Regions from separate parts of the Homo sapiens genome. Here regions 1 and 3 are each linked to region 2. The links are contacts of gene promoters, found by promoter capture Hi-C in human tissues and cell types (Jung and others, 2019). All regions are on one chromosome and are shown on one strand. Each heading gives the region's core, a stretch centred on a gene start or on the middle of the fragment in contact. The rest is flanking DNA. Distances are from core to core; before and after follow the strand shown. Region 1 holds the start of SNORD12B (small nucleolar RNA, C/D box 12B). Region 2 holds the start of KCNB1 (potassium voltage-gated channel subfamily B member 1). Region 3 has its middle 21 kb from the start of SNORD12.

Region 1 (2,999 bases), core at 225-2,724, 200 kb after region 2:
TGTAGAGGTTAAAGATCTAAAGCAAACTCTACCAATTGAAACGGTACCGAGATGCAAATGCATGGCTGGAATGGATTAAACATTCTGTCCGCTCGCTAAACAAAGCGATTGTTATGCTTACGCACGTGGTAAGCCAGAGCCCCAGATTGTTCCCTTTCCACTCGGATCGTCCTCCAGCCGATCAGGCATTAAGTTGTATGGCAGCTCTCTTCCAAGACCCCACAACCTGGGGCAATAAGCTATGCCAAACTCTCTCGCTGCTGTTTCCTGAAGTCCCCTGAAGTCCGACACCCTGCGGGTCAGCCCCCGAGGGCCATCAAGCATCCGTCTTCCAATGCCAATTTTACCTCGTGTCTCTCACAGGGGGAGAACTTGAATTTGCTTGGAGACCTAACGAGATGCAGTGAGCTTAAGCCCTTCCAGGAGCTTACCAATCAGTCGTCCCTTATTCATCCCCAAGCAAACGTATGGTGGTGTTGTGGTGGACCATTACTGAATACTCTGCCAAGTTACTTGGCGTGGCACTTGAGCTCTAATCCAATTGGCTATCTCCCTTTCACCCTGGTATTTCATCCAGAAAACATACATAAAAACAGAACATCATAAAACAATGGATGTCCCTCGTGACTCTCATGTTTATATAGATGCCATTGGAATCCCACGAGGAGTGCCAGATAGATTTAAGGCCCAAAATCAAATAGCTGCAAGTTTGAATCCATGTTGTTCTGGTGGTCAACTCTAAATAAAAATGTAGATTGGGCCGGGAGTGGTGGCACACGCCTGTAATCCCAGCATGTTAGGAGGCTGAGGCGGGTGGATCACAAGATCAGGAGTTTGAGACCAGCCTGACCAACATGGTGACAGCCCCCAGCTACTCAGGAGGCTGAAGGAGAGTAGGTTGAACCCAGGAGGTGGAAGTTGCAGTGAACCATTGCACCATTGCACTCCAGCCTGGGCGACAGAGTGAGACTCCATCTCAAAAAAAACACAAAAAATGTAACCCAGCAACGATTCATTAATTATACTAGGGATGCTATTAAGGGAACAGTTTAACAATTAGGGCCCACCAGTCAAACGGCCTGAGAAAATACAATAGCATTAGACATGATACTAGCGGAGAAAGGTGTAGTTTGTGTCATGATTGGAACCCAGTGTTGTACTTTCATCCCTAATAATACTGCTCCCGATGGAACCATAACAAAGGCCCAAGGACTTACTGCTTTATCCAATGAGCTAGCTAGAAATTCTGGAATAAATGACCCCTTCACGATTTTAATGGAAAAATAGTTCCGCAAATGGAAAGGACTTACGTCCTCAATCTCCTGCCATCAGAATAGGTTTGCTCATTCTTGTAGGATGCTGTATCATACCCTGTATCTGAGGATTAATACAAAAGCTTATTTTAACAGCTCTCACCCACCAAAATCTTCCTCAATCCTCCCTCGCATCATTCAGTTAAGCTTCTAATTTCAGAGGACCAAGAGGAACAAAATCAAGACACGCTAAAACAAGTCTGAAGAGAAATAATTATAAAAATCAAAAGGGGGAAATCGTTAGATACAATGGATTTCTCTTCAAAGTTTTAACTTCCTTGTTCTTTGTTCTTAAGGTCAACTTCCTCATACCTTCCTGCTCCGAGTTACCCGTTCTATAAACAACTTCTCCGGCCAATCTCAACCTGTAACCTGTTCCCTATTTGGAAAAGTCCCCCTCACTCCTAGCAACCAGCTCTGTAAACAAGTTTCCTGCCCTTCCCACAGCTGTAACCCACATGCCTCCTGTTTAAAATAGCCAATCAGGACTAGTTTAGATTGCGCTGTCGACTCCAGCCAATGGGGATAGGACACAGAAGCAGGGACTACTTGTTAGGAATAAAAACCCTTTCTCTCTTTTGTTAGGTGTGCTCTTGCCAGGAATGCCAGCAGCAGCACCCTACGGCAGAAGTAAATTTGCCTTGCTGAGAAATCTTTTGTTCAAGTGCTCGTTTTCTTTGGAACTCCAAGCTCTTATTTCCAACAAAGACCTAGTAATACCAACAGGCCAATGTCAGTCCTAATGACTTATTCTCCCAGTTTTATACCCAACTTGGAAATGGGTCCTGAGGTTAGGCCCAGTTGGACAAATTTTGCGGTGGGGTTTGGCAGATAGAAAGCAGAAACCTCACCTGTTACAAGGCAGACTGAATCAAGCCAAGATCAACACACACTGGTACACGTGGCTCCCAACCTATAGAAAGTTAACAGGTCAAAAGAAGCCATCTGAATGCTGGAAAAAATAGAGAAAGCCCAGTTCCCATGAACAAGCAATAGTCTCTGATAAAGATAAGCAGAAAACAAAGATAGGAGTTATTACTGGGGCCAATGCATCAGACAAAACTGGCCAATAGTGTAGAGATCAACAGGGTCGATCTGATGGGGAAAGAAGCTGTATCATCAGCTGCAAAGGCCACATTTGAGTCGTACAAGAAGTAGGGTGACAAACCCACACTGAAAAGCAGCTACTACCCCCTCCAGAGCCTGTGTCTACTCAGCCAGGGAAGACGTGTTGGCACCACTTACCAATTTTATATGTATATATATATTCTACTTCCAACACCCGCATTCATCCTGGTTCAATCAAAGCCTGGTTTTGGCCAACAATAAACCTGAAATGAAAAAACAGAAAAATGAGCTCCCATCAGCTAGATGCCCAGGGGAGCTGGGACAAAGGAGCTGCTCAAGCTGGCATATCAGACAGAAACTGGCTTAGAAAAGTTAGATCAACATAGTCGATCTGTCGGGGAAAAAAGCTAAGTCATCATATATGCCAGCAGGAAGTTCTTGAGTGAGGAGTAAGATTTGAAAGCCATGAGGAGTAAGATTTGGTTGGTATGCTTCATATTTGCAAATTTGCATTCGGTGTTTGAGCACTTCTGTGTTGTATCCTGTAGCTGGCAATAACTTGGTAGCCAAACCAAACACCCCTGTCTTCAGTGCTTACACTCTGAGTACAGGCCCATG
Region 2 (2,761 bases), core at 9-2,508:
ACGGCCTTCCGTGGGGGTGCATGGGGACACGGACAGGGGGTTTGCCTGCCGCAGCTCGGCCTGTTGGTCTGCTCGGGCTCCGCAGCTCCAGGCTGGAGGGGAGCGGGGTGGGAGGCAGGCAAGGGCTGAGGCCTGAGGGGACGCGCAATCCCCATTCTGGGGCTAAGGCGTGAGCCCTACATGCAGGGGGTGCTCAGGGGAACCCCCCGAAATCACTAGTGCGCGGTAGGAGGATGGCACCTTTTGAAAAGGCCAGAAAATTTAGCTCATTTCCCCGCCTCCCACCTCCCCCACCCCTTCCCTTCCAAGCCCGGGGAAAGGCGCAGAACCCGGAGTTATAAAAAGCCATCGCGGGAGAGGAACGAGGAGGAGGAGTAGGAGGAGGAGGAGGAGGAGGAGGAAGAGGAGGAGGAGGGGGAGAAGGAAGAGGAGGGGGAGGAGAAGGAGGAGAAGGGGGCGGGGAAGGAGCGAGGGGAGGACGGAGCAGGCGGATCCCGAGGACTCTGCCCGCCCCTCCTGCGGTAGGGTTGGGGGCTCAGAGGGAGAGGCGAGAGCGGGCTTTTCCTCCTCGCGGCTCACCTTGTCGCTGGAGCAATCTCAGGAGATGCTCCAGTGTTTGGGAAGAGGGGTCGCTCCAGGACAGAGGGGCTGTTGTGCACACCCCGTCTGTTGTGACCTCGGACAGGTGGGCACCTGGAACCCCCGGAATTCCCCCAAATCTTTTAAGATTTGGAAAAAAGCCCGCTGCCATTCCCCCACCCCCAAAATCTTGATTATCTCGAGAAGGGGAAGGAAAAGAAGAGAACTCGTTAAAAAAAAAAAAAAGAAGGAAAGAAGAAGAAGAAAGAAAGAAAAAGATAAAGAAAGAAAGTTTTCATGCAGCTCCCCCTCTCTCCCCATGGCGGGGCCAGGTTCGGGACTCGATCGGGAGACCCATAATGAAGAGAGTTTCAGCACTCTAAGGGGCGGACAGCGCCCCGGGCGGCTGGGTCGCGCCTGGGCCGCAGAAGCCCAGGGTGGGGCCTCCCGGGCTCCAGGGGCATCTCTTGGGGCCCTCTCCCCGCCCCGAGGGGCGGCCCCTCCCTCCATCCATGGGGTGCGGCGGACTTCAGCACCGGCGGGAGGGACAGCGACCATCCGTCCTACCCCACTGAGCCGCTTAAGCGCGGGGGAAGGTCAAGGCCGGCTGGGAGCCTGGTGGAGAGGTGGGGGGCGGGGGGACAGCATGCCCAGCTCCCCGTTTGCTGACCCGCGTCCGCTTTCGCTTTCTGCCTCGCAGCCGTCGGGATGGAGGTGAGAAGACGGCCGTGACGCGCGCCCGCGGGGCCCCCTGCACCCCCAGCAGCCCACAGCGCTCCCTGCCCCCCTCCCCCGCAGCAGCGGGCCTTGCCGTCGAGTGACAGCGGCCTGGGGGGGCAGGGGGGGCGGGGGCGGCCGGATCAGCGATGCCGGCGGGCATGACGAAGCATGGCTCCCGCTCCACCAGCTCGCTGCCGCCCGAGCCCATGGAGATCGTGCGCAGCAAGGCGTGCTCTCGGCGGGTCCGCCTCAACGTCGGGGGGCTGGCGCACGAGGTACTCTGGCGTACCCTGGACCGCCTGCCCCGCACGCGGCTGGGCAAGCTCCGCGACTGCAACACGCACGACTCGCTGCTCGAGGTGTGCGATGACTACAGCCTCGACGACAACGAGTACTTCTTTGACCGCCACCCGGGCGCCTTCACCTCCATCCTCAACTTCTACCGCACTGGGCGACTGCACATGATGGAGGAGATGTGCGCGCTCAGCTTCAGCCAAGAGCTCGACTACTGGGGCATCGACGAGATCTACCTGGAGTCCTGCTGCCAGGCCCGCTACCACCAGAAGAAAGAGCAGATGAACGAGGAGCTCAAGCGTGAGGCCGAGACCCTACGGGAGCGGGAAGGCGAGGAGTTCGATAACACGTGCTGCGCAGAGAAGAGGAAAAAACTCTGGGACCTACTGGAGAAGCCCAATTCCTCTGTGGCTGCCAAGGTGAGTCTGGGATCTGGGGGCTGCTGGTCTGGGGGGATCTGCTTGCATCCCCATATTGAGGACCACTGCTGGAGGACTCTGGCTTTGTTCCCAACGATGAAGATTAGTAATGGGGAGGGGCTAGGACTGAGTCCCCAGAGGTGAGGACCAACCCCCTCAGACTTTTCCCATGTGGCACTGGTCACTCCATCTTTTTATTATCCAAGACGTTATACCCCTACTTGGTTGGAGAGGTTTCACAGGGACCCATAAAAAGCCACAGCAAGAAGATGGACACTGACGAATAAGAGAGAGAGCACAGAGAGACAACAGTGGCTTGCTGGGGTGGAGTAGGGTTTGCTTCCCTGTGAAGTCCCAGACCTAGGCTGGATTGGATCACCCTGTGATTTTAATATCTCCATATTTATAACCTCACTCTGCCCCAGCAAGGGAAAAAAGCAGCTTACAGACATGCTTACAGGACATTGAGATACTGTCAGATAGTTTAAACATAAGTAAGAAGGGACCCCGAGGGGTGGGTGTGGACCCACACGACACATGCAGTTGGTTGTGGATGCTTGCGGGTGAGGGGTCACCCCCTGGTTACTTATTTATTTGGTGAGTTTATTTCCAGAATGGTTTGGTGCAGCTTGTAAAGATGTTTCAGCTCTTGGAACAAGATGTAAATTTCAAAATAGGAGAGAAAAATGAGGCAATGTGAAAAATAAAGGAGGAGGAGGAGGAGGAGGCAGGAATGAGTTTGAACACAA
Region 3 (2,700 bases), core at 168-2,667, 180 kb after region 2:
GAGAGAAGAGATGAATGCCTGATACAACTGGAATTTTCCCAGCTGCTTCTGGATGCCACCCAACCCAAAACGCATATGGAACCATTAGACACACAGGCAAATGTTATTTTCACCGTTTTCTGCCAAATGTCTAGCTGACTCCACTGATAAATGATAAAGCTCAGGGTGGAGCCGGGTGCTTAATTTTCTCTGATGGTTCACTTTCCAGCTCAATTTCCCTTCCTGGCAGAGAGTTTGGGAAACTGGAACCCCATGATTTAGAGATGAGGAAAATTCCTCCTAAGCAAATGAAGCATGTTGAGTGTTTATGGAAATGTCTGGAGTTTGACATTTTTATTCTACTTTAACATGACTCCAGCTCTGATAAGTGTTTAACTGATGTCTGTTATATGTGTCTGAGTCCCAAGTTTATCATGAACAAGTTTTTCAGCAGCTGAAGAATGTTGGACAGAATTCTGTGTAGTGTTGCCGAGTTCATTCTCATCTCTGAGCCTTTGCACTTTCTGTCTCCGCTCCCAGAATGCTCTTCCCTTTCAGATTTTCTTGTGCCCAGCTCCTATTCATCCTTCAGATCTTGGCTCACATGTCACATCCTCAGAGAGGCCTTCCCTGAATACTGTAATCAAAGTAACCCTCTAGTAATTTTCAATTTTCTTTCCCATCCCTTTTTTTTGAGACACGGTCTTGCTTTGTTGCCCCAGGCTGGAGTGCAATGGTGCGATCTCAGCTCACTGCAACCTCTGCCTCCCAGGTTCAAGTGATTCTCATTCCTCAGCCTCCTGAGTAGCTGGGATTACAGGTGTGTGTCACCACACCTGGCTAATTTCTGTGTTTTTCGTAGAGAAGAGCTTTCACCAAGTTGGCCAGGCTGGTCTCGAACTTCTGGCCTCAAGCAATCCACCCGCCTTGGCCTCCCAAAGTGCTGGGATTACAGGTGTGAGCCACTGTGCCTGGCCTGTAAATCTCTTTAATGTCTGGGAGGCTGAAACACAAGAATTGCTTGAACCTGGGAGGCAGAAGTTGCAGTGAGCTGAAATCACACCACCACACTACAGCCTGGGCAACAGAGTGAGACTCTGCCTCAAAAAGAGAGAGAGAGAGCCTAAGGAGAGAGGACATCTAAATAGAACATGTTTCGACGTTAGCTCTTCATGCACATGTATTTTCATCACAGCACTGTTCACAATAGCAAAGACATGGCATCAACCTAGGTGCCCATCAGCAGTGGAATAAAGAAAATGTGGTACATATACACAACAGAATACTACACAGCCCTGAAAGAAAATGAAATCCCCAGGCACAGTGGCTCACACCTGTAACCCCAGCACTTTGGGAGGCTGAGGTTGGTGGATCACCTGAGGTTGGGAGTTCGAGACCAGCCTGACCAACATGAAGAAACCCCGTTTCTACTAAAAATACAAAAATTAGTCAGGTGTGGTGGCGCATGCCTATAATCCCAGCTACTCGGGAGGCTGAGGCAGGAGAATCGCTTGAGCCCAGGAAGCGGAGGTTGCAGTAAGCCGAGATCACCCCACTGCACTCCAGCCTGGCGACAGAGCGAGACTGTGTCTCAAAAAAAAAAAAAAAAAAGAAGGAAATCATGCCCTTTGCAGCAACATGGATGCAGCTGGAGGCCACTATCATAAGCAAATTACCACAGAAACAGAAAAACAAATACCATATGTTCTCACATACACATGGGAGCTATACATTGGGTACACGTGGACACATACAGATGAAACATTAGACACCAGAGACTACAAGAAGGGGAAGAGAGGGATGGGGCAGGGGGTGAAAAACCCCCTACTGGGTACCTTGCTCACTACCTGGATGACAGGCTTGAGGGGGAAGAGAGGGACGGGGCAGGGGGTGAAAAACCCCTTACTGGGTACCTTGCTCGCTACCTGGATGACAGGCTCAATCATACCCCAAACCTCAGCACCACGAAATATATCCTTGTAACAATCCTACATGTGTACCGCCTGAATCTAAAGTAAAAGTTGATATTTTTTTTAAATGTGCTCTTGGGTTAGATCTTAGACCATAACAAGGATATTAGTAGGAAAATTGGCAACATTTGAATGAAGTCTATAGAACAGATTGGTGATTCTTAAAGTATGGTGTTTAAGACACTTTCAGGGGGCTGCAAGGTCAAAAGAATTTTCTTTTTTTTTTTTTTGAGGTGGAGTCTCGCTCTGTCACACAGGCTGGAGTGCAGTGGCGCCATCTCGGCTCACTGCAAGCTCCGCATCCCAGGTTCACGCCATTCTCCTGCCTCAGCCTCCTGAGTAGCTGGGACTACAGGCGCCTGCCACCATGCTCGCCTAATTTTCTGTATTTTTAGTAGAGATGGGTTTTCACCGTGTTGGCCAGGATCGTCTCAATCTCCTGACCTCATGATCCACCCGCCTCGGCCTCCCAGAGTGCTAGGATTACGCGTGAGCTACCGCGCCCGGCCAAGAATTTTCATAATGATAGTAAGACTTTATCTTTTAACATTCCCCTGTGACATTTGCGTTAAATGGTACAAAAACAACAGAGGACAAAGCTGCTGGCTCCTTAGCATGAATCAAAGTGGTGGCACCTAATTCTATTAGTAATCACTGTATTCTTCACCCCTACAAGCCCACAGTAACAAGAAGAGAGCCAGTTTCACTTAGGAATGTCCTTGATAAAGCAGTAAAAATTGCTAATTCTATT

The links. The method cuts DNA at HindIII sites, captures the fragments that hold promoters and counts their contacts. A contact is called where the count stands out against the background at its distance.
Region 1: a contact is called between a fragment that was not itself captured here and the fragment with the promoter of KCNB1 in region 2, in 1 of the 25 tissues and cell types used here (IMR-90 fibroblasts).
Region 3: a fragment that was not itself captured here is called in contact with the fragment with the promoter of KCNB1 in region 2 in 2 of the 25 tissues and cell types used here (H1 embryonic stem cells and bladder).

Annotation. Positions count from the first base shown.
Region 1 is chr20:49,280,130-49,283,128 of GRCh38, reverse strand. It overlaps ZFAS1 (ZNFX1 antisense RNA 1), which reads right to left. Exons shown (of 4, transcript NR_036658.2): 3 at 2,559-2,644. It overlaps SNORD12B (small nucleolar RNA, C/D box 12B), which reads right to left and starts at 2,816; the gene lies at 2,714-2,816. It overlaps SNORD12 (small nucleolar RNA, C/D box 12), which reads right to left and starts at 2,446; the gene lies at 2,357-2,446. The HindIII fragment of the contact is 4,058 bases long and covers 1-2,999 here.
Region 2 is chr20:49,481,165-49,483,925 of GRCh38, reverse strand. It overlaps KCNB1 (potassium voltage-gated channel subfamily B member 1), which reads left to right and starts at 1,258. Exons shown (of 2, transcript NM_004975.4): 1 at 1,258-2,012. The coding sequence starts at 1,446. The HindIII fragment of the contact is 16,129 bases long and covers 1-2,761 here.
Region 3 is chr20:49,300,788-49,303,487 of GRCh38, reverse strand. No RefSeq gene overlaps it. Among named protein-coding and RNA genes, the nearest start is that of SNORD12, 21 kb to the right of the region's middle. The HindIII fragment of the contact is 6,452 bases long and covers 1-2,700 here.